6 separate regions of the Homo sapiens genome follow, and all the other regions are linked to region 4. The links are contacts of gene promoters, found by promoter capture Hi-C in blood cells and fetal thymus (Javierre and others, 2016). All regions are on one chromosome and are shown on one strand. Each heading gives the region's core, a stretch centred on a gene start or on the middle of the fragment in contact. The rest is flanking DNA. Distances are from core to core; before and after follow the strand shown.

Region 1 (2,700 bases), core at 168-2,667, 310 kb before region 4:
CTCAGAGAGGTTCTGGAATTGGCCAGTGGTCCTTGAATCAGCTGCTCCTATGATTCTCTAACTGATTTCTCACAAAGCAAACAAGCAATCATAACAAAACAACTGTGCACACTGCTCTTCTTATTTTGTTATTTAAAAAGTACTTAGGCTCTACTTATGTTTGTTAGTCAATTTCTCATTACTTCTAGTTAATCAAAAGGTCAGAGGAAATACTTGAATATTTTCATACTAGAATACTTTAAAAAATCATGATTTCCAGTAATCTCTTTAAAACTTGGCAAGTTATTTTGATCTAAAAGTTTATCTTTTGTGTGCATATTTTTAAAGCTTCTAGACAATCTGATACCTCAGGTCCTGTTACAACAAGTAAATCCTCATCACTGGGGAGTTTCTATCATCTTCCTTCATACCTCAAACTGCATGATGTCCTGAAAGCTACACACGCTAACTACAAGGTATGGGCCTCTGCATCTTTTAAAAATATATATGCACACATACTTACGTCTAATGGATAGTTGATGTTTTTCTTATGATTTGTAGGATGTATAAGCCCTTTGAGATATGAGTTACATTTAGTTTTTTCAAGTTTGTTTGTCTTTCAGCTTTGTTTATGATAGCTTCTATCATACAGGTGTTTTGGATTTTCATATTGTTTGTACTCACAGCTAAGATTGATTACAGTGACAGAGCTAGGATGTGCAGCCAGGTTATAGGGGGAAGTGGCCCTGGTGGAGTCTGGAGGGATCCGTGTACAGGCTTCCTTCCCTCCCGTGAGGCTCACACAAAAATACAGCAACATGCTGGTCCTGCAGGTACCCTCTGCCTAACATGAGCCACAATTCCAGACTCACAGAAGAAAAGCAGGTGTTCGGCATAAACCATGTGTTTCAAATAGTCTGGGCATGGTGAGCCACTTGTTATCAGCTAGGGAAAGTTTATGTCAGCGTAAGAAACTGTTCACCAGATACCCCCAAGAGCCAGCCTTTCTGTCTAGGGATGTTTTAGTTTTTTAGTTCATTTTTTTTTTTAACTTTAAAATTTTCTGTTCATCTGCAATTTGTTAGATATGAAGTATGTGTCTAATTTAATTTTTGTTTTTGGTTGTCCCCAATAATGTTTACAGAAGAATTTTTCTGCACTAATTGGCTTGAGTTACTTACATTCTCATAGTTCTCTAGTTTCAGTAGTTTCATTTATTATTTTGTTATATCAATCTATCTGTCTGCTCATCTATTAGAAGCATCCTTGTTTTTTTTTTTTCTTTTTTAGACAGAGTCTTGCTCTGTCCCCAGGTTGGAGTGCAGTGGTGCAACCATGCCTCCCTGCAGTCTCAGGGCTCAAGTGATCCTCCCACCTCAGCTCCTGAGTACCTGGGACTACCGGCATGTGCCACCACACCCAGCTAATTTTTACATTTTTTGTAGAGACAGGGTCTCCCTAAGTTGCCTGGGCTGGTCTCAAGCTCCTGGCTTAAGTAATCCTCCCTCCTTGGCCTCCCAAAGTGCTGGGATTACAGGTGTGAGCAACTGCACCCGGCTACAAGTATACTTCTTAATTATTGTAGCTTAATGGTATTTATGAGGGGATCAGTTCCCCTGTTGTTCTTTAGAATTTTCTGGATATTCTTCTTTATTGATTTTGGGATGTGAACAATAGAATCAACTTCTACTTGTAGATTGATTTAGGGAGAACTTATACCTCAGATGTTAAGTCACCCTGTCCAGAATGTGGGATGCTTTCCTATTTGTTCAGAACTTTTTAAATTACCTCAGAAGCACATGAAATTTAAAGGATTTTAAAAAAAACTTAAAGATTATTTCACATAGCTCTTGCACATTTCTTGATAAATGAATCCTCAGGTATTCCTCTGTTTTTGTTACTAATAGTTACTTCTTATGGGTTTTTTTTCCCCTGAAAATCATTTATCAAACGTATGTGGCTTATTTTCTGAAGGATGTTTGATAATTTTGGAAGATATGAAAGTCTTCATATTTTACAAGGTTTGAGGTCTCTTTAAGCTGCATGGTTCTCATGTCAGCTCCCAAAGCAGAAGACGGCATGTTGAAAAATGCCGTAGAGAAGATACTTCTTTTCCACCTGTTTTCAACTCATATCATCTTGAATTTCAGGGCACCTTTCCATGCTCCTAGTGCTTGCTATCTGTTTATTATTTTCCTTCCTGAATACCCTGAACTCCAGCATGTTCTGCTGTAATTCTGGCCTCCCTGGCATCTTGGACTCCTGTTTCCTTTGCTCTGTCATCCCCGCGGTCAGCTCCTGCTGCGCAGCTTCTCAGCTGAAGTGCGTTTGGAGTGCCTGGCGTGTCTTGCTGGATCTTTGAGTATTGCCTCTGGTTTCCTTGGTTCCTTCTGCTGAGTTGCTCAGCGTCTCCACTCCCCATTTCTTGTGTGGCCCTTCCTGCACTCCTCTGATTCCTTTTGTCTTCCCTGGTTTCTTGCTTTGGTTTCGAGTCTCCACAGAACTTTTGCAGCTCTTCTGAAGACCTGGAAGCTTTTTCATCTTAATTCTCATCTCATGACCTCTTTTCCCTTCTTTGAGAGCTAGAACTTCCCATGGTGAACTTCTCTTTCCAGAATTCCATGCCTTCTTTTCCCTCCCACTTACCTGTTGTCCAGGAGAGGTCAGATTGCTGTGCATATTGGAGGAGAACCCTTTCTTCCCTGGGCTCTTCATCTCACA
Region 2 (2,700 bases), core at 81-2,580, 370 kb before region 4:
ATTTTTAGTAGAGATGGGGTTTCACCGTGTTAGCCAGGATGGTCTTGATCTCCTGACCTCGTGATCCGCCCGCCTCGGCCTCCCAAAGTGCTGGGATTACAGGCGTGAGCCACTGCCCCTGGCCATCTTTACTTTTTTTGTGAAATGACTTTAAATACTTGGCAAACATTTGGTCATTGTTCATCTGATCTCCACCATCCAGGTCTCAGAGAACATAATTTCTCTCTGAAAGCTTATTGACCCAGGAAATAAGATCTCTTTCAATCTGAGTGCGTCAGGCTTTATTCTTGTCATTTTGTCTTTTGATAATTTTCAAATGGAATTCATGGAATGTTGGCTTATATTCATATATTAGTAAAGTATGTTGAGACATCTTAAGATTGATTTGTGGTTCTATATGCCATATTAAATCAAAATAATAGCTGTTAATGGTTTTCACATTAGTCTGTCTCTTGTTTTTATGGAGTAATGCTGAGAGTTCATTATGCTTGTTCTACAGAAGAGCATGTTAAAAGGAGTTTTTGGAGTCAGAGAGGTTATTCTTGGTTTCATAGGATACACTCTATACTTTTTAGGGATTTCAGAGTATATAGCTGAAGGTGATATTTTATGTAAATATGTTTTATGGAAACTTATTGCTCATCGCTGTTTCCTGTTAACTCTCCTAAAATATAATTAAACTTTTGGAACTTTTTTATAGCTTTTGTGCTAGACTAATTTTTGTCTCTAATGAGGTTATATAAATGGCAGCTTCTGACGTTTTCAATGTAGGAAGTCATTTAAAACTTCATGTATATTGTGAAAATGTAGTCTGCTTTAAGCTCTCTAAAGTGGTCTAAGTTACTGGTTCCTAAGTATGGATGAGCATCAAAATCATCTGGAAAATTTGTTAAAAATACAGTAATGAAGGCACCTCACTGTCCTTTTTCCCAAACATACTTCTGCATTCTGTTTGAGTAGGTAGGGACTACACATTTTTCACAAGTATCCTCTTGGGAATACCCAGGAATGCTTACTTGAGCAACCTCTTACTAATATGTACCTTGATAAGGTGGCTAGGTAAACATAAATATACAAAAATCCATAGATCTCCCATATATTAGCATAAATCAGCTAGAAAATATAACGTTTAAAGATCTAGTTCACAGTAGCACCAATATATCGAACTCTAAGGAATCGATAAATATGCAAAAACTTTATAAAAACTTCTGTTAATGTTTCTGAAAGATATAGGTGACCACTTTCTAGATAGGAAGATTTTATATTACTAAGTTGAATTTTCTCTAAATTAACACAGAAATTTAAAATAATCTTGATCAAAATTCTAGTAGAGGTATTTTTGAACTTGTTCACTGCAAGAATAAATACATAATTGCAAAGAATATCTCAAAATCATCACCAGGCCTGGTGTGGTGGCCCATGCCTGTAATCCCAGCACTTTGGGAGGCTGAGGCAGGCAGATCACCTGAGGTCAAGAGTTTGAGACCAGCTGGACCAGTGCGGTGAAACACTGCCTCTACTAAAAATACAAAAATTAGCTGGGTGTGGTGGTGCATGCCTGTAGTCCCAGCTACTTGGGAGGCTGAGGCAGGAGAATTGCTTGAACCCAGGAGGTACAGGTTGCGGTGAGCCTAGATCGCACCACTGCATTCCAGCCTGGGCGACAAGAGCAAAATTCTGTCTCAAGAAAAAAGAGAAAAAAGAAAAAGAAATCAACACTAATATGGTGAGACTTAATGTATGTGACATTAAAATAGTGATTGGATGTTAAAACAGGTATAGAACAGAAAGAAGAGTGTATGTGTGTATCTGTATGAATTTATGATGGGTGTAACATATATGTATTAGGGAAATGAGGGAAATGATACATTTCTCTGACTTTGGGAGAACATTATATCTCTACCTCATATTGCAAACAAACATAAAGTTCAGATTAATTACCTAAATGTGAAAAAATGAAATAATTTCTTTAAAAAATGTAATCTTAGTTTGAGGAAGGTTAACATTATAAAGGAAAAAACTGTTTTGAGTGGAATATAGTTCAATATGTCAAAATCCACCTTCAACAAAATTGAAAGTAAATTGAACTTGGGGAAAGTATTGACAGCATATAGATCAAAGGTTACTAGCCTGTGTAAAGAGCAGTTATAAATATCGTTAAGAAAAACACTGTCGACCTGTCGGCACCTTGTTCTCCGACTCCCAGCCTCCAGAACTGTGACGAGTAAGTGCTTATTGTTTAAACCACCCAGTCTGTATGTGGTATTTTGTTATAGAAACTCAAGCTGATTAGGACACTAGTAATCAGTAGACTGAAACTGAAACAAAAATAAGAACCTTTTTTACCTGTCAAATTGGCAAACATTAAGAATATTCAGATTTTTGTCAGAGGTGATACAACCTTCTAAGAAGGCAATTTGGGAAAATATAAAGCTTTAGATTATTATATGTCTGACCTAGCAGTTTTACCTCTAGGGTGCTTACCCCTAGGAAAGTGTGTAATGATATTGGTGCAGTGCCCTTCATCCCATTAGAAAATTAAAAATAACCTTAATGGCCTACCACTAAAAGGGGATTGAAAATTTAAGATATATTTATTTATGTGTTTATTGAGATGGAGTCTTGCACTGTCCGCCTGGGCCAGAGTGCAATGGTGCGATCTCGGCTCACTGCAACCTCTGCTTCCCGGGTTCATGTGAT
Region 3 (2,700 bases), core at 84-2,583, 290 kb before region 4:
CTTCTCTATTTCCTTCTAGACGTAAATCTGTTAATCCTGTCAGCACTGTTACTCACCTGAAAGGGTCTGTTTCCCTAGGAGAACTGAGGGCACTCGGTCAACACTGATTTTCCACAGTGGGTATTGGGGTGGTATCTGCTTGTTTTTTTTGTTGTTGTTGTTTGTTTTTTTTTGTTTTTTTTTTGAGATGGAGTCTCGCTCTGTCACCCAGGCTGGAGTGCAGGGGTGCGATCTCGGCTCACTGCCAGCTCCGCCTCAGAGGTTCACGCCATTCTCCTGCCTCAGCCTCCCGAGTAGCTGGGACTACAGGCACCCACCACTACGCCAGGCTAATTTTTTGTATTTTTAGTAGAGACGAGGTTTCACTGTGTTAGCCAGGATGGTCTCCATCTCCTGACCTCGTGATCTGCCCGCCTCGGCCTCCCAAAGTGCTGGGATGACAGGCGTGAGCCACCGCGCCCGGCCTGGGGTCTGCTTTTAATGAAGGAGGCATCAAGGGGTGGGCTTTGCGTTGGCCTGATGCTTTCATCTTTCTTTCACAAAACCTGTCCGAAGAAAATCCGTCTAAATGGGCCATTGCTCTCCTCAGGAAATAGTCATTGGGAACTTCTTTTCCTTTCCTTTGACACTAGGAGGCTGACTGGGGAGAAGCCCTGGTCTATGGCTGTGGGCAGCAGGGGCTGAGAGGAGCAGGCTCTCAGGGGGGCACGGGTACCCCAAGGGAAGCCAGAGCCCTGATTTGTTCCATTCTAGTAAGAACAAAGACTGCTCTGGTTTCATGTTTGTTCTGATTGCCTTTCATCAACCGGTCCCCTTTCTCCCAGTTCTTAAGATTCAGTACAGTGACAGTTTTATGAACAAGAATAGAACACTAGAACAGACAAACCATTGAACTCTATGCTGATAAAGATTTATTGAGCTCCTGCTGTATGTTTGCATTCTGCCCAGAGGCTCTGAGAAAACCAGGCCATATGCTCCATGCTTTATCCATGGAAGCTCCCCGTCAGGTTGGGAAAGCTGACAGCTGCAGGGAATACAGTGTGACACAAAACTGGCTCCCATGCAGCCCTTACGTGTCGCCTCTCAGATGGTTGGGGGACGAAGGTCGACTCCTTTGGGTATCTTATTACTAAACCAGTTTCAGGGAATCTGTGCCACCCTATCTGCCATTAACGTGAACAGATGAGTCCCCAAGGTGTAATTTTGGGTATTGTCTGATGTCTCTTGGAATTTATTATTTGTTTTTCCAATGAGATTTCACCTCAGGGTATAGTAAAGTTGTTGAGGGGATTCCTGGATGTGTTCTGCAATTATCTAGGCTGATTTCAGAATAGAGTTATGCTTATAGTCAAATTTATCAGCTGTCAAGAATTTTATTTAAAATTTATGCAGATAAGCAGGAGGAAAAGAAGCCTGGTTTTTACATTTTAATCCTATTATTGATGTGAAATTTTATTTTCCTTCCTGTAGGTGTTTATTGGCTTTGTATTGAAACAGTTTGAATACATTGAAGTGGGCCAGTTCAGGTAATAGCATTTTATTATTTTAGATTTTTTTCTTCTTCTTGTGTACTTACATGTAATTTAGGTTATTAAGTGAATGTTTAAACTACTGTTAGGCATTTTTGCTGTTTTCTTTAAATGGAAATCTGACTAACATACTGTGCATTTTTGCTTCTCTTAAAAATTAATGTATATCTCAAGACTTGTTTGGAAGTAGTTATGTATCTGAAAATTCCATATGTTGTCAGTATTCATTGCACATTTCAAAGCATTTAATTGTGTTGACAGATGGTGGAATGAAATCTTGTGGTGGAGCACTAGTTTTTAAATCTTCTTAGAGAAAGCAGTTTTATATAATGTTGTCTTTAGTAATTATTATGCATTTGTATTCTCTGCAGCTTTTTCTTGCTAGATGTTGAGGTTTTAATACTTCTTGCTAGTCCATTACAGGTTTATAATTATTAAAAGTTAAAATTCTTTTAGTACCTAAAATGCTTAATAAACATTGTAATTAGGAAAATTTAGTGCAGAAGGAAAGTGTTCCCAGATTCCCTGGGGTCTGGAAACATAGTGTTTATTCTAATTACATGACACCTCCACTGTGTTTTGGGGCAAGTTACTGTTTCTCTTTTGAGTTTCAATTTCTTCAAGAGCAAAGAGGCAGAGGAGAGCTAGGAAGATCGTAGCTGCTGTGCCCCTGTGCCGTCGGGTGCCTTCTACCTGCTGCCTCCGAACCTTTACACATGTCCCTGCTCTGCGCGAGGGCACAGATGGGATGCACTGTGGCAGGGGTGGGGTTAGAGTAGATCACGGACACCTGTTAGCTTGATGTGTGCTTGCTGTCAAGGTTGAATCATGAATTATTTTATGTTGCTTATATTGATATGTATCTTAATTTTAAAAGAAAGGTCTAAATGGATGTTTTTGTTTTTAGGGAATCAGAGGCAATCATTCCAAACATCTTTTTCTTCTTGGTATTACTATCTTATGAACGCTATCATTCAAAACAGATCATTGGAATTCCTAAAATCATTCAGCTCTGTGATGGCATCATGGCCAGTGGAAGGAAGGCTGTGACACATGGTAACGGGACACACCTTTCACTGTCGTCTTCGGTGTCGTGATGTGCTTGGCAGTGTTCGTTTTCATATACCCACTTTGAACGTTGTCAGTGGCAGCCATGTGCTTCTCAGGCTCT
Region 4 (2,700 bases), core at 173-2,672:
GCTGGTGGCTGCACAGGTGACTGCGGGGGTGGGTGGGGGATGCAAAATTCTGCTTCCTGGGCCTGGTGTCCCCCGCCTTGCATGAGGCCCTGACAAGACATCACCGAAGCACCAAAGCCAACCCTTGTGGCCCACCGGAGACCTGTCTCTTGGATCACAGGGGCAGTGGGGAGGGGCGCCCAGGGCTCCCGATGCCTCTGAGCCCTGCTCTGAGGTCAGCCGATGTGGCTCAGTCCTGGCTGTGAGGCCTCACGCTGCCCTGATTCCATTTGCTCCTCAGTGCGAGGCAGACAGAGCCCAGCCTAGGGTCTGGATGGGATGAAATGAAGACGTCTCCTCCCTAACGGGACACTGTCTACCCCTTCCTTCTTCTCCCCCGAGAACCGTCAGCCCCGTGAGGATGGGGTCTAGGGTAGGGCATGTGGACGGAGCTTTGCTGTTTGTCCAGGTGCTTATCTTCTAGGGTGCCATCGCCCCTCCCCACTGCTGTTCCCGTATCTGCTGGGTGTCCCCAACCCCAGGGTGGTGGAGGCCGTCTCTCGGATGGGGCTGACACCCAAGGCACGGACCTGCCAGGTCCCCCAAAGCACATGGCCTCTCTGCAGAAGAACCTGGATGTGACATCTAATGCCCAGGCCAGAGCTTGGGGACAGCTGGACTGGAGCCACAGGGTCAAGGAGGGGGAGTCCAGAAGCGCAAAGTCCACCCAGCTGGGAGGGCTGCTGGCAGGTCCTTTACAAAGCAGGCAGCTCCTCTGCCCATCGGAGCCGGCTGGCCTAACCAGGGCCTGCTCTTGCCTGGGATGGGGGCAGAAGAGGTGGAGACCTGGGGCCCTGAGGCGGCACTGTGGGTCCTGGACCCGCCCACCTGCACTGGGGTCCCTGCAGGCTTTTAATGGGAACAGAAATGGAGGAAGAGACAGAGGCTGCCAGGGGCTCCCCGACCCCTACTGCCTGCCTGGGGAGGGGTCACCTCAGTGTGGGGGAAGCCTGGGGATGTGAGAGCATCCTAGGCCTGGGCTGCCTGTGGCCAGTCTGTTGTCCGGGTGTCTAGTGACCCCTGGGGTAGGGGCAGATGCCAGTCTGGGAAGCCGGATTGTTTGAAGACCAACTTTAAAGTTGGGAGCAGTGCCCAGAGCGGGGCCGATGTCTGCTAGGTGGTTGTCTCTGCTTTTTGAAAAAGAAGTCCCCGCCCGACCCCCGCCCCGCCAGGCGCTGGTCTGAGCGTCTGAGCCCAGATGGTGCGCTTGCTCCAGAGGGCGGGCGGCTCCAGTGGCCGCCGCGGGACGGTGGGGCCAGAGGGGCCCGTGGGGGTGGGGGAGCCGCCCGCAGGAGAAGGAGCCCCGCCCGCGCCGGCCCTGGAGTCGCCGGTGTCGCCGCCCTGCCCGCGGGCCCGCCCTCCTGGCCCAGCCCAGGGCCCTGCGAGCTATTTTGAAAGTGACCCTGGGCTGGGGCGCCGGGGCGAGCGCGGCGGCGCGGAACCATGACAGAAGATGACCGAGGCGGCGCTGGTGGAGGGCCAGGTCAAGCTGCGGGACGGCAAGAAGGTCGGGGCGCGTCGGGGGCGCGGGGGGGGGGGGCGCGGGCGCGGGCGGCGGCTCACGCTCCCCCCTGTCCCCGCAGTGGAAGAGTAGGTGGCTGGTGCTGCGGAAGCCGTCGCCCGTGGCAGGTGAGCGGGGCGGGCGGGGGACGGGGGGCGCGGGGGTAGCGACACGGGTTACCGAGGCCCGGGGCAGTAATGCCAGCTTGCCCAAAATCGCCGCCGCTGTCACCCCGCCGGGAAACCCGAGAGCCCCGTGCGGACCCGGACCCCCCGGCGCCCCTGGGAGCGCAGGTGGGGGCCCTGGACGGAAGAACCCTCTTTCCAGCAGGGCAGACTGAGGCCCGAGGGGCTGCCTGGTGGCCCTGTAGGCGGAGGGGACGCAGGCCCTGAGCCCCCCAGCAGAGCAGCAAGGGGCCCCCCAGAAGCAAAGCCCCACATACCTGAGGGTTGAGCTGTGCTTGTGGAAACGCTCAGAGCAGGGCCCCCGAACCCAGCCTCCAGGGGTGCTGCGTGGGTTAGCGCTGACCCTGGACCCCTCCCAGGCAGACGAGAGGCTGGGCTGCGGTAGGGCAGGGCAGAGTGACTGCCACATTGCTGGGGGAACAGTCCTCTGGGAGGAGGCAGGGGTCCCCCCCCAGTCCCCGCCCTGAGCCAGCACCCCAGCTTGGGGAGGGTCAGCATGGAGCCCCCAGGTCTGGCAGCCCAGGCCGCCTGCAGCGCTGGGCCTGTAGGGAGGGCTGAGCCGGGCCTGCAGCTGCTCCAGAGGACAGGTGCGGCAGAGCCGGCCAGGCCCGGGTCTGGGTGGGATGCTCGGCCTGTGTGCATGGGGGGCTGTACGCCAGGGGGCTGCCAGAGCACCCTCCAGGACGGGTGTCTGTGACTCCCAGGGAGGGTGTGGGGCAGGGATCCCTCCTGCGTCCCCTCTGCAGGGCCTCAGGTGGTCCTGGAGGAAAGCACTTCCTGCCTGCCTCCGCCTCCCCTTGCAGGGCCTGGACTGCACGCTGGTCACTTCTCCACTCAGCCCTCCGTGCCCAGACCTCCTGCCTGGAGCTGTGGGGGCACCGACAGAGCCTGGGAGGGCGTCTTTGTCCTCCGGGGCTGCAGGGGACCTGGTATAGGAAGGGATGGGGTCTGGGCAGAGTGAGAGGCCCTGCCAGG
Region 5 (2,700 bases), core at 131-2,630, 330 kb before region 4:
TTCATATTAAAAAGAAATGTCCACATTGGAATTTTTTTGGAGTTTTTAGAGCTAATAGAGCTTTTCATAATGTAGTGGGAATGAGTGATCAGTAAGCTCTTAGCAGTTTCCATGCGTGCATTTCTGTGCCTTGAAATAAATGACAGATGAGTACATTTGTGTTCTGTGTGTAAAATGTGCTCTTTCCTCATTGCACTTCCATGTTGGAGGGCTTGTCTCTTGGTGATCACACTTCAAAATTCTCACAGCCCCCCTTGAACCGTTTAGGTGTTAGACGGTACCGACAACCAGTATTTGGGCCTGCAGATTGGACAGCCCCAGGATGAAGATGAGGAAGCCACAGGTATTCTTCCTGATGAAGCCTCGGAGGCCTTCAGGAACTCTTCCATGGGTATGTGGACTACAGGTGATGCGCTACAAAGTGGTTTGTATTCAGACCTGGACATCTTAATTATATCTTTGCTTCCAAGAAGAAGTCCTTTGATACTGTTTTCTGAGTTCTGAATAGCTGATGAAAATGACCAATTGAGGAATAATCATACTTTTTCTTGATCTAAATCTTATACTTTTGAGTTATCTTAGCATAAATGTATAATTGTATTTTAAGTGGAAATTTGTCACTTAATCTTGATTTCTCTGTTTTTAAAGCCCTTCAACAGGCACATTTATTGAAAAACATGAGTCACTGCAGGCAGCCTTCTGACAGCAGTGTTGATAAATTTGTGTTGAGAGATGAAGCTACTGAACCGGGTGATCAAGAAAACAAGGTGAGGGACATAGGCTTGAGACGACTTGGTGTTTCTGAGCTTGTGTGAGGATTTAAAATCGCCCTGGCTACTGTCTACTTTATTGCTTTCCCATCCCTGGGCCTTTAAATTTCCCCTTTAAATACCAGCTCTTCCCAGGCCTGTTGTTTTCTGCCTTTCCAGGTACTACCCACAGCCTTGAGAATTGCCTGAGTTCTGCCTCCTTTGAGAGTGTGCCCCAGACAAATCTATTCTGTACTGAATGTTTCCTTGTCTGATTTCTTGGATCATTCATTTGATGGTTGCGTATGGCCTGCAACGTTTCTTGTTTTGGTTCTACTGAACTGTTCTAAAAGTCTCTCTTCATATTATCTTTTTACATGTAAATGTAACTGTCTTCACTTTTAATTCCTCAAGGACAAGGAATAGCGTTTCACAGTTCGTCCCATCAATCAGAATTATAGCCTTTGGCATCTCCCTATCTACCAGGCCCACTTCCTCTTAGATTTGGGCTTCCCCAGGCTGTTGCCTTTCCCCAAGTAGCTTCTGCTTGTCCTGTAGAAGACCTTTCATGCTTTGCTTCTGCAGCAGCCGTTCCTGAATGCCTAGTGTCAACTGCCTTCTTACCACGCCCACCCTCCCTGCATGCTGCATTTATCCCCTGCCACAGCCCTGTGACCCTGTGTCCTGCTGCCTCTGACTTGTCTGTTTCTGCTTGGCCATGGTCTCTGTGAGGTCAGGTGTGCATATGGGCACAAACCAGGGCATCTCTTTATCCCCAGCACCTGGCTTAAGTGCTGCTCTGGAACTATCTGTTGAATGAACTAATGCATGAATGTATTGTTGAGTATGAGACAAACAAGTGTCATTGTCTCCTTTCTAGCCTTGCCGCATCAAAGGTGACATTGGACAGTCCACTGATGATGACTCTGCACCTCTTGTCCATTGTGTCCGCCTTTTATCTGCTTCGTTTTTGCTAACAGGGGGAAAAAATGGTGAGTACAAAAGGGGATGTGCACAGTTGAAGGAAATAACTAGGTTTCAGAGGTCAGCTTGGTGGCCTGTTTTTGCCTTGCGTGCAGCAGAGGAAGTAGAATCTGAGGATGAGTTTGGTTTTCACTAGCCGAGGGGAGGGAGGAAATGATGGGAGCAGGTAGGTTATTGGGTCTGGTTTTGTTCATTTGAAAACAATCTGTTGTTTGAGGCTGAAGGTGGCTTGGGTGATTTCTTGGCAGTGCTGGTTCCGGACAGGGATGTGAGGGTCAGCGTGAAGGCCCTGGCCCTCAGCTGTGTGGGAGCAGCTGTGGCCCTCCACCCGGAATCTTTCTTCAGCAAACTCTATAAAGTTCCTCTTGACACCACGGAATACCCTGGTATGTTAAAAGTTCACATCTTATTTTCTCAGATTTAATCATTATTGTAAAAACTATTTCAGTATTGACTATTTTAGTTTTAGAGCAGTAAGTGTTTTGAGTTCATTTGGGATATTTGACCTGCGTTGTAGCTCTTCAGAAAACACATGAATAGTGAAGTTCTTTGTTTCATGGGTTCCCTTTAGATGAAACCCATAGAGGAGAAAAGTAGAAACCTCAGCACGTAAGAGCCAACATATATACACATCGGATTTAAACCTAAAGCACAAATTGTGCCTGGTCGCAGTGGCGCTGAGTCGCACTCAGCCAGGCCAGGCATTCACACTCAGGGTGAGTGGGAACCAGGACTGGCTGAGGCAGCAGTGGACCCAAGTCTCCATCGCGCCCATGCTTACTATGGAGCCTTCTCGTTCTCTCTTTTTCTTTGGGTGAGAGGGTACACTTGTGTTTTTGAATTTATATGAGGTAAGTGTGTAATAGGGTTTTTTCTAATCTTTTTTAAGTGGAATCTGGAATTTTAATCAGATTTATTATCTGACAACCTAGAATTATAATCCAGAAAGTCTGTGGTATTGAGGACA
Region 6 (2,700 bases), core at 52-2,551, 350 kb before region 4:
TGACCCAGTGCTGGGGACGGGGGGGCCACCTGCAAGGTCTAATCATGGAGGTGGGGGCTACAGTGTTGGCTTGTGCTGGGGCCAGCATCCTTAGGAAGGCATCTTGGAGGTGGAGGAGACAGCCGCCCACTTCTTGATTGGGGCCTTCAGCAGCACCAGCTTCTTGGGCAGGCTGGTGCTGGCTTTCATCACCATGTCGTGTTCAATCTTCTTCCAGATCCTGACTTCTAGGTTCAGCTTTCCTCAGACCCTGGTTCCTTTCAGAGGCCATTGCTGCTGCCTTGCTCTTTGCTGGCTTGTGCCTTGATTATATGTCTTTGTACAACTTTTTGTTTTCCTGGAGTTAATCTTCACATCTGTTTTCTTGGAGTTAATCGTTACCTCTATATCGCTTGCTTATTATTCTTTGGCCTTTTTGTCTTCTCACACCTTCCAACTTCTTTGTAATATGTGTTTAGTACAATTTTTCATGACAGGTAGTTTACTGAATCAGTTTTTCCCCAGTGTGGTCATCCAACTTGAGTTATCCAGCTCTCTGCCCCAGTCTGGGCAGGTTGATCTTCAGGTCTGTAGTACACTTGTATCCTAGGACTTCTCTTTGCCATTAGCCTGGAATTTCCTTTGCAGTTCTCCCGTTGGATGCCCAGTTCCTAGATGCCATATGTTTTTCTATCGTCTAGTAGCTTCCTGAGAGAAGATGAATGGGAGGGAAATTGTATGAGGTTTTGCATTCATAAAAATGCCATTTTTTTTCCTGTACACTTGGCTGGGTATGGTGTTCTGGGGTAGAAATCATTTTCCCTCAGAAATGCAAAGTCTTTGCCCTGTTGTCTTAAAATCTCCAACGTGACCCGATTCCTTAACCTATGAATGTACTTTTCTTTGGAAGCTTTCCATTTTTGGGGAGGTGAAGTGCTAGGTACTTAGTAGGCCTTTTAATTTGGAAACTTACATCCCTTCAGTTCTGGGAAAATTTTCTTAACATTTCTCTGAGAAGTTCTTGCCTTTTATTTTCTGTGTTCTCTCCTGAAATTGGTTAGTTGGATGTTGGTCCTCCTAGATTGACTCACATCTTACCTTTTTCTTTTCTTTTTCTGGTACTTTTTAGATATCCATCTCAAACTCTTCTATTCATTGTTATGTTTTTAACTTCTTTCTTTTCTTTGTCTCTTGATGGGGTCTTGCCCTGTTGCCCAGGTTGTGGTGCAGTGGTGCGATCATAGCTCACTGCAGCCTCAAATTCCTGGGCTCAAGCAGCTGTTCTGCCTCACCCTCCCAAGTAGTTGGGACTACAGGTATGCACCACCACGTCCAGCTATTTTCTTTACTTTTTTTTTTTTTTTTTTGAGATGGAGTCCTACTCTGTCGCCCAGGCTAGAGTGCGGTGGTGGGATTTTGGCTCACTTAAGCCTCTGCCTCCCAGGTTCAAGCAGTTCTCCTGCCTCAGCCTCTCAAGTAGCTGGGATTACAGGTGTGCACCACCATGCCCGGCTAATTTTTGTATTTTTAGTAGAGCCAGAGTTTCACCATGTTGGCCAGGCTGGTCTCGAACGCCTGACCTCAGGTGATCCGCCTGCCTTGGCCTCCGAAAGTGCCGGGATTACAGGCGTGAGCCCATCATTAGATCTTTAAATACCAGTATCTATAAGTCTTTTCCTCTTGAGTCAGCTAGTATCCCTGGAAGGAAATTACTCATTTTCCTGCTTGGAGGCTATAAGCTTGGCTATGTTTATCCTGCAACCGGGGACTGGAAGGGAGGGGACTGACAGTGTTGCTGGTCAGGGTGCCCTCTTACTTTTTGTTTTCTGTGTGCATCTCACGTCTGTCCTCAGCCTATGTAAACACCTCTTGAGATTATCCCTCTCAATCTTTGCCGGAGGTGGGGGAGGGGCTGCTTCCTGGGCTGCCTTGGATTGGAGGGAAGACCTCAGGTGAGTGGGTGGGAATTTGCCCAAGGAGCCATGAGACCAGCCACTATTTCACCCTCTCCATCCCTCCACTTTCAGATGTATGTGGCGCCTCCAAAGCCCGAGCTCTTCTTGGCGTCTGTGGCTTCAATAAGCTTGCTTTTTGCTGGTATCCCTCCTACCCTCCCCTGTCCCCAGCAAAGCTTGCATTTGAACTTCTTCCTACGGGCTAACAAATCAGTCAGTTATGTAGCTCTTGTTACTTTTTAGCTTCCGAAGTTTTGTTGACACCCGTAGTCTGCTAATGTCCCTGTTCTGTTCTTTCTGTTCGTGTAAATATATGCTTTATACAACTTCTTTACATGATTTTTGTGGGGTTTCTGGGTAGCAGAGCTTCACAAGTTCAATCCAGCGTGTTGGATTAGAAATCTCCCACCCTCTGGTTTATTCTTATTCTCAAAATTACCTGCCAAACACTGATACTCCCTTGTTTTTCCTTTTCCTGACAGGAAATGTACATACCATACAGGACAGAAATCATTAGTGTATCCCTTGGTGAATAACCACAAAGTGAACTTAACCCTTGTAACCGCCACCCAGGTCAAGACAGAATATTACCAAGCACTCAGAAGCCTCTCCCCTATTCCCCCGTCACTGCTCCTGCCTTCCTCCCCAAGGTCATGACTGCTGGCTTCTAATTCCAGAGTCTGTTTTTAAATTCTGTGTACATAGACCATGGATTAAGTGTTCTTTTTGTCTGGTTTATTTTGGTCGACATTAAGTTCATGAGAGT

Evidence for each region. Contacts are between HindIII fragments. The CHiCAGO score rates a contact against its expected background, and 5 or more counts as called.
Region 1: a fragment that was not itself captured here is called in contact with the fragment with the promoter of DOK7 in region 4 in 2 of 17 cell types (endothelial precursors and naive CD8 T cells); the score reaches 6.5 in endothelial precursors.
Region 2: a fragment that was not itself captured here is called in contact with the fragment with the promoter of DOK7 in region 4 in 1 of 17 cell types (endothelial precursors); the score reaches 5.5 in endothelial precursors.
Region 3: a contact is called between a fragment that was not itself captured here and the fragment with the promoter of DOK7 in region 4, in 1 of 17 cell types (endothelial precursors). The highest score is 7.0, in endothelial precursors.
Region 5: a contact is called between a fragment that was not itself captured here and the fragment with the promoter of DOK7 in region 4, in 5 of 17 cell types (total CD4 T cells, naive CD4 T cells, erythroblasts and 2 more). The highest score is 7.1, in total CD4 T cells.
Region 6: a fragment that was not itself captured here is called in contact with the fragment with the promoter of DOK7 in region 4 in 3 of 17 cell types (fetal thymus, non-activated CD4 T cells and naive CD8 T cells); the score reaches 6.6 in fetal thymus.

What each region holds. Positions count from the first base shown.
Region 1 is chr4:3,156,745-3,159,444 of GRCh38, forward strand. HTT (huntingtin) reads left to right here. Exons shown (of 67, transcript NM_001388492.1): 28 at 328-455. Among named protein-coding and RNA genes, the nearest start is that of HTT, 83 kb to the left of the region's middle. The HindIII fragment of the contact is 2,184 bases long and covers 326-2,509 here.
Region 2 is chr4:3,089,429-3,092,128 of GRCh38, forward strand. The region is part of intron 2 of HTT (huntingtin); the gene reads left to right. Among named protein-coding and RNA genes, the nearest start is that of HTT, 16 kb to the left of the region's middle. The HindIII fragment of the contact is 2,201 bases long and covers 231-2,431 here.
Region 3 is chr4:3,175,862-3,178,561 of GRCh38, forward strand. HTT (huntingtin) reads left to right here. Exons shown (of 67, transcript NM_001388492.1): 34 at 1,471-1,526; 35 at 2,437-2,585. Among named protein-coding and RNA genes, the nearest start is that of MSANTD1, 72 kb to the right of the region's middle. The HindIII fragment of the contact is 4,405 bases long and covers 1-2,700 here.
Region 4 is chr4:3,461,884-3,464,583 of GRCh38, forward strand. It overlaps DOK7 (docking protein 7), which reads left to right and starts at 1,423. Exons shown (of 7, transcript NM_173660.5): 1 at 1,423-1,546; 2 at 1,623-1,668. The coding sequence starts at 1,493. RefSeq lists an enhancer at 201-1,048. The HindIII fragment of the contact is 8,339 bases long and covers 1-2,700 here.
Region 5 is chr4:3,129,657-3,132,356 of GRCh38, forward strand. HTT (huntingtin) reads left to right here. Exons shown (of 67, transcript NM_001388492.1): 13 at 268-391; 14 at 649-767; 15 at 1,630-1,741; 16 at 1,982-2,119. Among named protein-coding and RNA genes, the nearest start is that of HTT, 56 kb to the left of the region's middle. The HindIII fragment of the contact is 2,912 bases long and covers 1-2,700 here.
Region 6 is chr4:3,109,866-3,112,565 of GRCh38, forward strand. All of the region lies in intron 6 of HTT (huntingtin), which reads left to right. Among named protein-coding and RNA genes, the nearest start is that of HTT, 37 kb to the left of the region's middle. The HindIII fragment of the contact is 829 bases long and covers 888-1,716 here.